Regions from separate parts of the Homo sapiens genome. Here region 2 is linked to region 1. The links are contacts of gene promoters, found by promoter capture Hi-C in blood cells and fetal thymus (Javierre and others, 2016). All regions are on one chromosome and are shown on one strand. The core of a region is centred on a gene start or on the middle of the fragment in contact, and the rest is flanking DNA. Distances in the headings are between cores, read along the strand shown.

Region 1 (6,758 bases), core at 2,682-5,181:
TTTTTTAAAAGAACCAAATCAGGTCAGTTTTCTTGCTCAAAAATGGTTTCCCTGCCACAGCCTTCAAGGCTTCCTGTGATCTGCTCCTGGTCTGCCTTGCTGACCTCATCTCCTAACCCTCTCTACTTTAACCACTCTGTTCAAGTCCTTGCCTTGTTGCTGCTCTTTGCATCTACCAAGCATACTTCTGCCTCAGGTCTTTGCATTGATCGTCCTTCCACCTGAGTTGGAGATATCTTTATTCAGATATTTGCATGGCTAGCTCCCTTGCCTCAGAGAGCTCTGTTCAAAGAGCTCCTCCTCAGAAGTATCTTCCGCCTACCATTATGCTCTATACTTTGCTTTAACCCTAATACATGTTGATTAACATGTTTATTCTTTGTCTTTCTCATGAGGACTCTGTCTATCCAGTTCACTGCTATATCATTGGCATCTGTCTAGCAAATTTTCTCTGGAATTAGCTGTAGAAAGAGGTTGAGTGAATCAATTTTAAGGATGGAGAAATTGAGGTCCAGAGTGAGAAAGGCAGGTCAGCAGCAGAAGCAAGAGTCAAGAATACATCTTCTAGTAGGCCTGGGAAATGTCCTCTGCACTCAGCCTCCTTTCTGATATTACGTAAAAACCAGGTTCTTTTCCAATATAAAATTCTCATCTTGAGAGAATAATAACATCTTAACATAATAGTATATTCTACTTTGCCTTTTTATTTCCTCAAATTTATACTCATTAATTATCAGAGCTGGAGGGAACCACAAAGATGACCTGCCAAGTTTTATTTTGCAAATAAAGAACCAAGGCCCAGAGAAGATGTCCCACAGTTGGTTGTGGCAGAATCAGGCTAGAGCCCAGGTCTCTTGACTCCCAGTACAGACACTTTCTCCTTCCTTGCATTGCTTAACATTGAATGTCTATGTCTATTCACAGATTATGTTGCTTTTTATTAAAATAAGTTTCTACTCCTTATATTGGCAGGTAGTCACTCCAAAATGTACGTTCCACAAGGGAGGTGGGAAATCATATCCTGTCCAGAAAAAGCTGCACATGAAAGAGGTGAGGCCTGGATGCCTTCTAGAGGTGCATGTATCCCGGCTGCAGACTGCTCGGCCAGGAATCTCTGGCATCTCTGAGTCAGGGAATCATGAAGCTTTCTCAAGTGAAGTAACATTCTCCCTGTGACCATGCCACTTCCTGCCTGTGTGCCCTCTTGTAAGGCACTGAAGGTCTCAGGACCTCAGTTTCCTCCTCTGTGAGGTGGGAATAGCATGCCCTGAAGTGTTGGATGAGAAAGTGTTTTGTGAGCAACAGAGGACTGGGTAAGGATTCCTAGTGAGTTTGGTTGGTCTGGGCAATAGCGTCCCCAATACAACCACAAAACACTTTACCCTTCCAGCTTTGAGACTTGGGAGAGATGCCCTGGGGGTTGATTACAGAAGGCTCAGGTTGGGAAAGTTTGAAGTGCTTCATGCTAAACCAACCTTTAAGCTATAACTGGCCATGGAGGGCTTAAGGGAGAATTTATGTCCCTTTTTGTCCTGGCTTCTCTGATAAGTGGTTCTCAGACTCATAACTCTCCAGGAGTTATAAAACAACAAAAGCAAAACCCTTAAGTCATCTCATTTACAGCTTCAGCTCTTCAGCAGGGTATGAGGGAAGCAACTGTTTACTATTCATAAGTAGATACTTAAACAGATAGACATCATGAGGTTTTTTGTTTGTTTGTTTTTGGTGAGAAGCAGTTGAGGAGGGAAGAAGAAAGAAAAGAGGAGAGAAAAGAGAGGGAGAGATGTCTTGAGGCAGAGACTGGGATAGGCACTGGCTAAGCAGGGTGAGAAGGCAGGGAAAGAGCCGGGCTGACCCAAACCAAAGTCAGAAAATGATTGAGAAGAGCAAGAAAAACAAAGGAATGAGGATACAGAGTCAAGAGAGGAGACAAAAGAAGGATTGAGTGAGGAAAATTCTGAAACATAAATTTGCAGAAAGGTTAAGGAAAAGGAGGAATAAGAAGGAGGAGAAAGTGTAGAGGGAGAGCACAAGGATGTGGAAGGAGGGGAGCAAGCGTCTGGGGAAGGAGACAGAAGAGATCCTAGAGCACAGGGGAAGATGGGGAGCTGCTATTTGTTCTTCGGCTGGCTCCTGCTTTGGAAAAATCCTCGTTTCCTACTCAGTGGGTATGCCAAAGACCACATCCTGGGTACAGGAGATATGAGATCATTTGGAGGTACCTAGAGACAGTCACAGTGATAGAACTAAACTCTGAGTCCTTAGAGGCCAGAGAGAGTTGCAAGATTTAGAGAATATAACATGTATTTCCTAGGACTGGGTTCCACAGCTCCAGATTCATTGATCTCTTAGACTACTCCAACACATGTGAATGACTTTTTAATGCCCCACTTTGTGCTTAGTCTTGGCTGGCCTTGTCAAGACCTGGAAACTTTAACACTTCTTGCTGTGCATTTCCGCTTTGCCTTGGATTACAAGCACAAAAAGAAATAGTGACAATTATTCAAGCCATTCAGGATACTTCCCAAACCCTTCTGCCTCTCAACACTGTGGTTCGGGTCTAAGTACTGAGAATATTTTAATACCTAATATGAGCTTCGCATGGTTTCCAGAGATGCAGCATATCTTTTTAGCTAATATTGGCTTTTTTGAAGCTCATAAGATAACAGCTCTTAAAGATCCTGTAGGGATCATCTCGTCCATGCTAGGAAATTAGCTGGTCCTTCCTCAGTAAGGAACTATTTAGATAAAAGCAGTCAGAACTCTGGCCTGAACAGTAAACATTTAACCAGAGTTCAATCAGAATTCAAGGACAGGTTTTCTTAAACTTTCTTTGTTTCTAGGAGATCAGGCAGAGCTGAATTTAACCAAGAATCTTTTGATCCTTTCCACATATAGATATACAATAGTGGTCACATATGTTCTGGGAGTTCCTAGACCTTATATGTCTAAACTGGGGCTTCCTGACATAAAACTATGCTTACCGGCCAGGAATCTGTTAGAAAACTCAGAGCTCAGTAGAAGGAACACTGGCTTTGGAATGTGGAGGTCTGGTTTTGCTCAAAGTGTGCAGTATGTGAAGGAGAACAATTTACTGACCATTACTCTGCCTTACTGATTCAAATTCTGAGGTTTATTGAATAATTTCTTAGATTGCCTTCCAGCTCTAAATTTCTCAGCACCAAAATGAAGTCCATTTCAATCTCTCTCTCTCTCTTTCCCTCCCGTACATATACACACACTCATACATATATATGGTCACAATAGAAAGGCAGGTAGATCAGAAGTCTCAGTTGCTGAGAAAGAGGGAGGGAGGGTGAGCCAGAGGTACCTTCTCCCCCATTGTAGAGAAAAGTGAAGTTCTTTTAGAGCCCCGTTACATCTTCAAGGCTTTTTATGAGATAATGGAGGAAATAAAGAGGGCTCAGTCCTTCTACTGTCCATATTTCATTCTCAAATCTGTTATTAGAGGAATGATTCTGATCTCCACCTACCATACACATGCCCTGTTGCTTGTTGGGCCTTCCTAAAATGTTAGAGTATGATGACAGATGGAGTTGTCTGGGTACATTTGTGTGCATTTAAGGGTGATAGTGTATTTGCTCTTTAAGAGCTGAGTGTTTGAGCCTCTGTTTGTGTGTAATTGAGTGTGCATGTGTGGGAGTGAAATTGTGGAATGTGTATGCTCATAGCACTGAGTGAAAATAAAAGATTGTATAAATCGTGGGGCATGTGGAATTGTGTGTGCCTGTGCGTGTGCAGTATTTTTTTTTTTTTAAGTAAGCCACTTTAGATCTTGTCACCTCCCCTGTCTTCTGTGATTGATTTTGCGAGGCTAATGGTGCGTAAAAGGGCTGGTGAGATCTGGGGGCGCCTCCTAGCCTGACGTCAGAGAGAGAGTTTAAAACAGAGGGAGACGGTTGAGAGCACACAAGCCGCTTTAGGAGCGAGGTTCGGAGCCATCGCTGCTGCCTGCTGATCCGCGCCTAGAGTTTGACCAGCCACTCTCCAGCTCGGCTTTCGCGGCGCCGAGATGCTGTCCTGCCGCCTCCAGTGCGCGCTGGCTGCGCTGTCCATCGTCCTGGCCCTGGGCTGTGTCACCGGCGCTCCCTCGGACCCCAGACTCCGTCAGTTTCTGCAGAAGTCCCTGGCTGCTGCCGCGGGGAAGCAGGTAAGGAGACTCCCTCGACGTCTCCCGGATTCTCCAGCCCTCCCTAAGCCTTGCTCCTGCCCCATTGGTTTGGACGTAAGGGATGCTCAGTCCTTCTAAAGAGTTTTGGTGCTTTTCTGGGTCCCTCAGCTCCCGAAGCTCTTGAGAAAACTATCAAAGGCTAGAATCCCCTTCTAACTCTTTTTTTCCCCCATGATAAGCGCAGTCGGTCACAGTTCAGGTGAGTTCTTACTTGGCATTCAAGAAAATTACAAAATCTGGGTAGTTGTCTGGGCACGAAGCGACAATGGCGTCTATCCCTGGTGCTGACCCTGGGAAGCGCTGACCCAGGTGCTGAAACGCAGACCTCTGAAGCTGCTACCTCTTAGCGTACCTCACTTCCAAACGTCGGGACTAGGGCAAAGGGGCAATCTAAAGACCGAACGCCGTATGTTTGAGATTGTGAGAAGTCTCGTTCCCCTACAGTTTACTTGGTAAAAATGGTAAAACAATTCTACTTTGTAGCTCGTGATGTGAAAATTGAATTAAACTGTTGGCACACACTTTATCTTACCAGAACGGTCTTTATGTGTGTGTGTGTGTGTGTGTGTGTGTTTGTGCGTGTGTGTGTGTGTGTGTGTGTGTTAAGTCTACAGGGACAGAAAGGTTGCAGAAACATTTGAGCTCTTAAAGCCTTTTTGTGTAACTTGGTAATTATAGCAACTATCCTTATTTTTATATCCTTGATTGATTTTAAATGTGACAAAAAATGCGCAGCTGTAAAAACTGGATTTTGTGTGTGACCAAATCTGTTCTTTAATTTAGGCTTTTCAAATTTTTTCCATTGTCCTCCCCACTTCTCTTTCTCTCTTTTTCTATCCCTTCTGCCCTATACAGGAACTGGCCAAGTACTTCTTGGCAGAGCTGCTGTCTGAACCCAACCAGACGGAGAATGATGCCCTGGAACCTGAAGATCTGTCCCAGGCTGCTGAGCAGGATGAAATGAGGCTTGAGCTGCAGAGATCTGCTAACTCAAACCCGGCTATGGCACCCCGAGAACGCAAAGCTGGCTGCAAGAATTTCTTCTGGAAGACTTTCACATCCTGTTAGCTTTCTTAACTAGTATTGTCCATATCAGACCTCTGATCCCTCGCCCCCACACCCCATCTCTCTTCCCTAATCCTCCAAGTCTTCAGCGAGACCCTTGCATTAGAAACTGAAAACTGTAAATACAAAATAAAATTATGGTGAAATTATGAAAAATGTGAATTTGGTTTCTATTGAGTAAATCTTTTTGTTCAATAATACATAATAAGCTTGAGTGGCGGTTTCAGTAAAGTTATTTGAGATAGGTACTCCAATGTTCACAAACATCTATTTAAAATTCTCGGTGGCAATAAAGTTTACATTTTAAATGATAACTATTATAACATGAGTCATTTTAAACAGAAATAATTTCACATAACTCTATGCATTCAAACTTTAATTCAATGATAATTACTGGGAGAGGCTGACATAAACATTAATTACATATTAAGTACACCTAAATTATATGTTGGACTATTGAAATGAGTGTGTGTGAATAGTTAGGCTGAAAAATCCAACTATCTACCAGGTTGATATGTAAAATACATAACATATGAAAAGATGGAAGGAACAAAGTCATTTGGTGGTTGAGAAAAAATCTGACTTAAATAGCTAAAATGAGGTTCTGAATTTGTTTCTAGTTTGTAAACATTTATCTAGAGAAATACCATTGCTTTTGTGTCTTCTTTGACAATCCTCTCTAATTGAACAGTGCTAAATGACTGTTTTAAAAGCAAGCTTTTAAGATATTTTTTCTCAGGGAGAAATATCACTTTTATTATAAGATTCCTTCTGGAAGTACTATAGGTTGCAAGAAATGCATATTGGCTTACCTCACTGAGTGCTATCTATATTGCAGGTATTGGAGCTCAAAATCATAATTATGAAATAGCTGAAGGAGATATCTCAAGTCTTCTCTTAATTCTATCAATATGGGAGTCAAATAAAAACACAAAAATTATTCTTAAACACTCAGTAAAGGTGATAGTCTTATAACAACATGCTAAATGGGATCACTCAAGACAGAATGTAAACATTGCTAATTTAACTTCCTGAGACCTAAAGAGATATCCTTTGGGGGATGTGTGTTTTAGCTATCAACTGCATTTCTGCATAGCTACTGGAATAAAAACCAAACATAAATATGTATGCTCAATATAAATCCTTGTAGTATAAACTAACTGATAGTATCATATAAACATTTAAGAGGAGCTTAATATTTTATAGAAAATATTTGTGTTAGATAATACACATTTGAATGTGGTTGGCTTAGAGGAAGTTAATTTCTAACAGCTGATCAAACAAAAGAAAAAAAGCCAAGCCACTTTACTAATCTCTGTGAAAACAGAACATCCTTTGATGTTCTGGTATACCTTTTATTTGCAAGACATTTAGGTGTGGGGATTAATGCATGTCCACTTATGGGATCTGTCTGTGCCAAAGGCCTTATGTACACTGGCTACCAAAAAATTCAGTGGAGTAACAGCATCATATTATAATTACAGCACAGATGAGAACACAA
Region 2 (6,758 bases), core at 2,119-4,618, 320 kb after region 1:
TTAAGAACATTTTATTAACCAAACAGAAACATTATACCCATTGGCAGTCACTCAGTTTTTCTCCAATTCCCCCAACCCTAGGCAATCACCAGTCTACTTTCTGTCTGTGTAGATTTGCCTCTTATGGACGTTTCATATCACATAATACATGGTCTTTTGTGGTTGGCTTCTTTCACTTGGCATAATGTTTTCAAGGTTCAGCCATGTTGTAACATATGTCATTACTTCATTACTTTTTATTGTTGAGTAGTATTCTCTACAATTCTCTACTTTGTACATCATTGCAGTCTCTACATGGAGGTTTGTTCTTACTTTATGGACACTGAATTTTTTTCTCTTTCATTCAAACATTGCTCTTATATTTGTTATATCACTGTCCTTGTACACTGCCAACCCACAGTCTCTACTCTAAGTTCTAGAAGCACAGGTGTATTATGAGTGGCTTCAACAGGCCAATTTAGAAGCCATCTTGCTGTGATCTCATATTAATAATTGGGTTTCTCCTGAATGAAGTCTTTCTTAATCCTCTTTCTCTATCAACCTCCATTCCTCACTTCTCTTTTCATCCTTGCAGTTGAGTTTGGTAAGGTCAGAACTTTTGGGTTGTTACTATAGTGCCCTGTGCATATTTTTATCAAAGCATCACATCATCTGATACCTGTCTTTCTCACTAGTCTAAACATTTTGAAGGCAGAAACTATATGTTACTACTAATATATCCAGTACCTGACACATTGTCTGGCGCAAGTTAAGCATTTAAATAAATTTTTTGTAGAAACAAAGAAAGGAAGGAAGGAAGGTAGAAGGAAGGAGGAAGGAAGGAAAGAAGGAAGGAAGGAGAGAGAAAGAAGAAGAAAGAAGGAAGGAAGGCAGAAAGGGAGGAAGGAAGGAAGAGAAAGAAAGAGAGAGAGAGGGAGGGAGGGAGAGAGGGAGGGAGGGAGGGAGGGAATTAGTCCTTTGATAACCTGCTTTGTATTGTGATTTTCTTGGATGCAGGCCTGGCTTGGTGCTGGTCAGGCTTCCCAGAGCTGGAGTCTTGCCTTTTCACAAAATATGGAAGTGGCAACAAGAACTTCCTGTCAGTCTCTGTGACGACCTGCCCAAGTCACTGATGGCTGCCTTGCCTGGCTTTTATCTTAGATGTACACATGACCACTTCTCCTGGATTCCATGTTGGTGCTCTTCCCATGGACTCACTGACTGAGCTGCTGTCTCTCAATGTTCGTGGTTCTTTTCTGAGCTTGTGTGTGAGCATGTCTCTTGAGCCAGCTGGAAGCTCAATGCAGGCAGGGCAGGGGAAGCAGACAAGCTCATTTAGGAAGCTGGATCCACTGCTGCGGAGGTCAGGGAGTAAACATGGCGGCCTCCAATGGGAGACACTAAAGAGTAGATTCTTTCTTACTCGTTGTTGATTGAGGCAGTATGGAAAGATTTGTTTTGTTTTATATGTAGGTTTAATTTTATTTTTTATGTAACAAACAAAGCCCTGTTTGAAGTGTTTTACAAATGTTAACTTGCTCAATCTTCATAACAACTTCACGGGGTAGCTGCCATTTTTATTATCCCTGTCGAAATACTTTGTGCACACAGCTGATAAGTGGAAGAGCCAGGATTCCAAACCAGATAGTTTAACTCTAGAACCTTGCTTTACTGCCTCTCTCATTGCTGGGCCTTCCCACATGAGCTCTCCTTGTCTGGAGGCTCCTTCAGCATCTCTTTACCTGGCCCATGCCGACCTGCCCTTGAAGTATTACTCAGTATTCTCCTCTAATAAATAAGCTTTTTCTGCTTCCCCAGGCCTAGATTTGGTGCCTGCTCTATGTGCTTCCGTAGCACCCAGGGCATCTTGTATAACAATTTCACACTACAAACCTATTGACTTGACTGATCTCTTCTATGACTTAAACTCTTTAAGAGCAGGAACATTTCTTTGGCTGGTACACATTGCACTCTCACGCTCAGTAATGAAACACAGTTGACCCTTGAACAGCACAGGTTTGAAGTGAGTGGGTCCACTTATACATGGGTTTTCTTCACCTCTGCCACCCCTGAGACAAGACAGCAAGACCAACTTCTCCCCCTCAGTCCACGCAATGTGAAGATGACAAGGATGCAGACCTTTATGATCATCCACTTTTACTTAACGAATAGTAAATCTATTTTCTCTTCCTTATGATTTTCTCAGAAACATTTTGTTTTATCTAGCTTACTTTATTGTAAAAATATAATAAATAATATATATAATACAAAATACATGTTAGTAGGCTGGTTATGTTATCAGTAAGGCCTCCAGTCAACAATGTGCTATTAGGAGTTAAGTTTTGGGGGAGTCAGAAGTCGTACACAGATGTTTAACTGTGTGGTGGGGGCGGGTTGGTGCCCCTAACCCCCACATTGTTCAAGGGTCAACTGTACCTGGCAAGTAGTACATGCTAAAAAAAATTGCTTACATATATAAGTAAATCTAAATATTCCTATTTTAATATTAAAGTATAATGTCATTCTATAAATGCCCATTAGCCTCCCTGCTCCCCACTCATTGAGTTTGACTTAACAGAGTATCAAAGTAAAATAAAAATAACGGGTAAGAGGTTTTCCCAACTTTGCTCTCAAAACTGAATCACACTATTTAAACAAACTACATGATTAATATAGTAGATTCACAAAAGTAAATAAATCTATCCCTGTGTATCTCTACCACTTGCGCACTTGGCTAATTCTGAGAACACACTTAGAAGAGGCATTAAAAACCTGAATATATTACGGATGACTATCCCTTAGCCATTTAACCCTTTCACCTGGGTAGCAGCTGTGTGGCGGAGCAGGAAATAGTGAATTAACGCCACCTCAGCCCTGGAGGCAGCGGCAATGCCAATATGAGTATAAGCCAATTAGTGAGACCTCATGCTTCTTCAATAACAAGGAGTTCAGGTATTGCAGTCTGACCCAGTCAGTCCCATCTCCTACTGGGTCATGTGCTGTGCAGACGTGAACTGTGGGAACTGCTGCAAATTTTTTGTCTCCTTAAGGGAGGTCTGGCTTGGGGTGAAGACATCTGGAAAGCAGAGAACAAAGACTAAAAGAAACTTGGTCCTTGACAACCTCATTAGGCTATGAGGAAAAAGTCCTGTAGCGTTCAGCTTATCTCAGTGAACTGAGTGCTCATTCCCTTTATTGCCTAGACTTGTTTGGATTAGGTTTCCTGGTCCATGCACCGTGAAGGGAGTGCCAGCACACTGGAGCACGCCCGAGGACATATGAGCCGGGTGGCATGGAACTCTGAGGGTCAGCAAATGAGGCCACTGCCCCAGCTAGCTCTCAGATCACATGAAACATGGGAAAGGAAAGAAGCCTGAGCAGAGAATTCCAAGACCCTGACCATCATTTTCTCGAGCCTTCTGCCTACCCTTGTCAGGCTTCAGGAATGCAGACAGGCAAAGAAGAACTGCTGTATATCCAAACCTATTCAGCCCCTCCTTGTCTAGACCTAAAAATTTAAAAGGTCCACAAATAGTTCTTGAGCGATTCAGGCTCAACATCCAATACTGGGAAGGACAGGCTTCTGAAATCAGAGAACTTCATATTAAATAAAATTACTAGGGAATAGAGAGAACATTTCATTTGGATTCTGAGAATCTTAAATAAATATTTCTTTTAAAATGACATCATGCAGTTTTAAAGACTGCAAACAAAGAATATCACCAACAAAATTCAAACGGCAAAGGGGCACTAAATATCATGGAAAACCAAAGCAGGAGGGCAAAAGTTCAAAAACGTCTCCCAAAATCAAAGAAAAGAGAGAAGGTGGTGAACCATTGAAAAACAAAGATGTAAAGAACAAATGCAGAAGATCCCATTTAGGTATACAAAAAATATGGTAGGAGAAAAGTGCAAATTGAGGAGAAACAATTAAAGAAGAAAAAAAATGTTTCTGAGTCAAAAAAGACATGTTCGGGTTTGAAAGGACTTCATAAGAAGCAATCAAAATTAATCAATAGAGTTTTCTACATACACATACTCTGGTAAGTTTTAAGTTTTTTTAGATTGGTTGGGTGAGGTGTCTTACATGTATCCAGGCAGGGATGGGAGGAAATGGCTTACCTACAAAGCAACAAAAATTAGGTTGGCTTCAGGTCCTTTCTCATTAATATTAAATTCCAGCAAATATGATGCAACTTTTGCAGAGTTTAAAGGAAAAATATTCGAGTCTGAAAAATCTATCAAGTTATTTTCACTTGCAAAATGGAAAGAAAAAAAGGATCCTTAACAAGTAGAAACTCAATATATATATCTGCGCTTCCCAGAAACCTTATTAAAATTGTGCTCTAAAAGATAATTAAAATAAATACTCTAGGATGGGAATGTCTTTAGTGCTGCCATATTTAACATACATTTTGCTTTTAGTATCTAACTTTTTTTAACCATATTTAAACTTTCTTACTATTCTGCATACAATGTTAAATCCTAATATGTAACCTCCACAAAGCAGGGAGTTTGGCTTGTTTTTGTTCACTTCCACACCAAAACCAGAAAACCATACAGAATTGGTCCTTAAGAAATGTATGTTGAAGGAATGAATGAACTAACCAGAAATGAGTGCTAAATCAAGTATAATGCCTTTCCCCACATGATTTTTCTTTTTAAATAATTAATATTCTCATTTATATTCATAGACTTCCTAGTACTGAGCCATAACCTAGGAGTGAGCACATAACTCACTCCTGGCCAATTAGAGCACCAGATTTTCTGGCCACAGTGAATGGTTTAGTGATGGCATGGGAACTAAGCCGGACCAGTGAGATGCCACTATGGGGACTTGTGCTGGAGTTGCCAACAGAGAGATGCTCTCCTTCTGCTGGAGTACCAAGCTAATAGAATGTCAGCTTGTACCTAGACAGCTTGCCACAGCCAGGTGAAAATGTGCTTGAGAATGAAACCAGTACAAAGGGAAGCTTTAAGTACTTGTTTCCAGCATGCCGAAGAACATTCTGCCATATCTTTTGGTAATATGAACAAATCAGCTCCCTTTTTTTCTTAAGTCACTTTGACATGATTTCATTTACCACTTATAAATTAGAATTTTCTATATGTTTATGTTTTGTGCTCTCATCAAGTTTTAGCATCAGACATATCAATGCTAGCCCCATAAAAAGATGTAGGCAGATTTTCATATTGTTTGCATTCTTGGAACATGTTGGAAAGCAAATAACGCATACCTCCTTCCACCTTTATTTACAACACATTGAAAGATAGACACTGACCTGGGGGAAATTAAAATACCATACACCCTTTATTACCTGCAAAGATGGCCTGAAGGACATGAGCTCTGCGGACAAAGTGGGATCCTCCTAACAGAACTTTCCAGGCAACTGGAAGGTTCTGGAGAACCACAGCCTCTCCCACTGCCACCCCTACACCCACATACACAGGGTGGGGAGGGGTGGAGAGCCTTGTCTGGAGTCAGTTTTGGTTTTCTAATTTTCCTAAAGAATTCTGTATTTTGTTTAGATTTTCATCTAGTTATACTTTCCTCATTTCTAATGCTTTATATTTTTATTTTCTCCCTTCATTCAAGGCCCAAATTCCAAAGGACTTGCCTTTTTTTTTTTTTTTTTTTTTTTTTTTTGAGACAGAGTCTTGCTGTGTCAGCCGGGCTAGAGTGCAGTGGCATGATCTCAGTTCACTGCAACCTCCGTCTCCCAGGCTCAAGCAATTCTCCTGCCTCAGCCTCCCGAGTAGCTGGGATTACAGGTGTGTGCCACCACGCCCTGCTAATTTTTGTTTTTTTAGTAGAGACAGAGTTTCACCATGTTGGCCAGGCTGGTCTTGAACTCCTGATCTCAGGTAATCTGCCCGCCTCGGCCTCCCAAAGTGCTGGGATTACAGACGTGAGCCACTGCACCAGGCTGGACCTGCGTATTTTATTTATCTTTTTGAAGAATCGCCCCTTTTATCCATTAATTGTATTTTTTCATTTTTAGCATTCAGAGTCATTAATTTATGCTTTTATTTAATTAATTGTATAATTTTATATATGCATCTATATGGCTTATTTTGTTAACTTTTCTGTATTGAATTGAAGGCCTGGTTGTTATTTTGGGCCTTTTGAATTTAAATGTATGAATAGTGCTTATGCTTAGTACCAGCCCATACTTTTGCTGTATACTGTTCTTATTTTTGTTGATTTTTATATCTCAGAATATAGTTTTGATTTGATTTACAATTTTTTAAAGAAATTTGAGATTTTACTTGTTTAGTTTTTGTTTTTTTCAGTAGGTCTCAGTTTTGATCTAGCATTTATGTGGATCTAGCTTGATTGTGTGATAGTCCTAGAATGCAGTACACATTTTTTTTCCTGCTTCTATGGGCATATAATATACATTCTTTATAAGGTACCATATGCTAGATTATCTAGTAAATTCATCCTATTAATTATGTGACTAAACTCATTAATATTCTATTTTTGGTCTATTTGGTCAATTAAATTTAAAGACAAGGTGTTTAAAAACTCTTTTTTGTACAGAAAAATTGGAATGAATAAAAATTATTTAATTCTAGTGAGTCAAATTTTATTCTTATATCTAAGAACTGTGCTTTCTATATCTAGCAATACATTGTTTAAAGTGCATATAAGTTTATGACAAATATGGTCTTGATGTTTTAAATCAAATAGAAAATATTATCTTTTTCCATTTTTACTCCTGGCCTCAAAATTTATTTTTGAAATGTTTTTACATGTGTGTTTATTCATTTATGTT

What was found. Contacts are between HindIII fragments. The CHiCAGO score rates a contact against its expected background, and 5 or more counts as called.
Region 2: a contact is called between a fragment that was not itself captured here and the fragment with the promoter of SST in region 1, in 5 of 17 cell types (M1 macrophages, naive B cells, naive CD4 T cells and 2 more). The highest score is 6.0, in M1 macrophages.

Annotation. Positions count from the first base shown.
Region 1 is chr3:187,667,567-187,674,324 of GRCh38, reverse strand. SST (somatostatin) reads left to right here and starts at 3,931. Exons shown (of 2, transcript NM_001048.4): 1 at 3,931-4,171; 2 at 5,048-5,413. The coding sequence starts at 4,034. The coding sequence ends at 5,260. The HindIII fragment of the contact is 4,322 bases long and covers 1,147-5,468 here.
Region 2 is chr3:187,349,319-187,356,076 of GRCh38, reverse strand. No RefSeq gene overlaps it. Among named protein-coding and RNA genes, the nearest start is that of RTP4, 16 kb to the left of the region's middle. The HindIII fragment of the contact is 3,173 bases long and covers 1,782-4,954 here.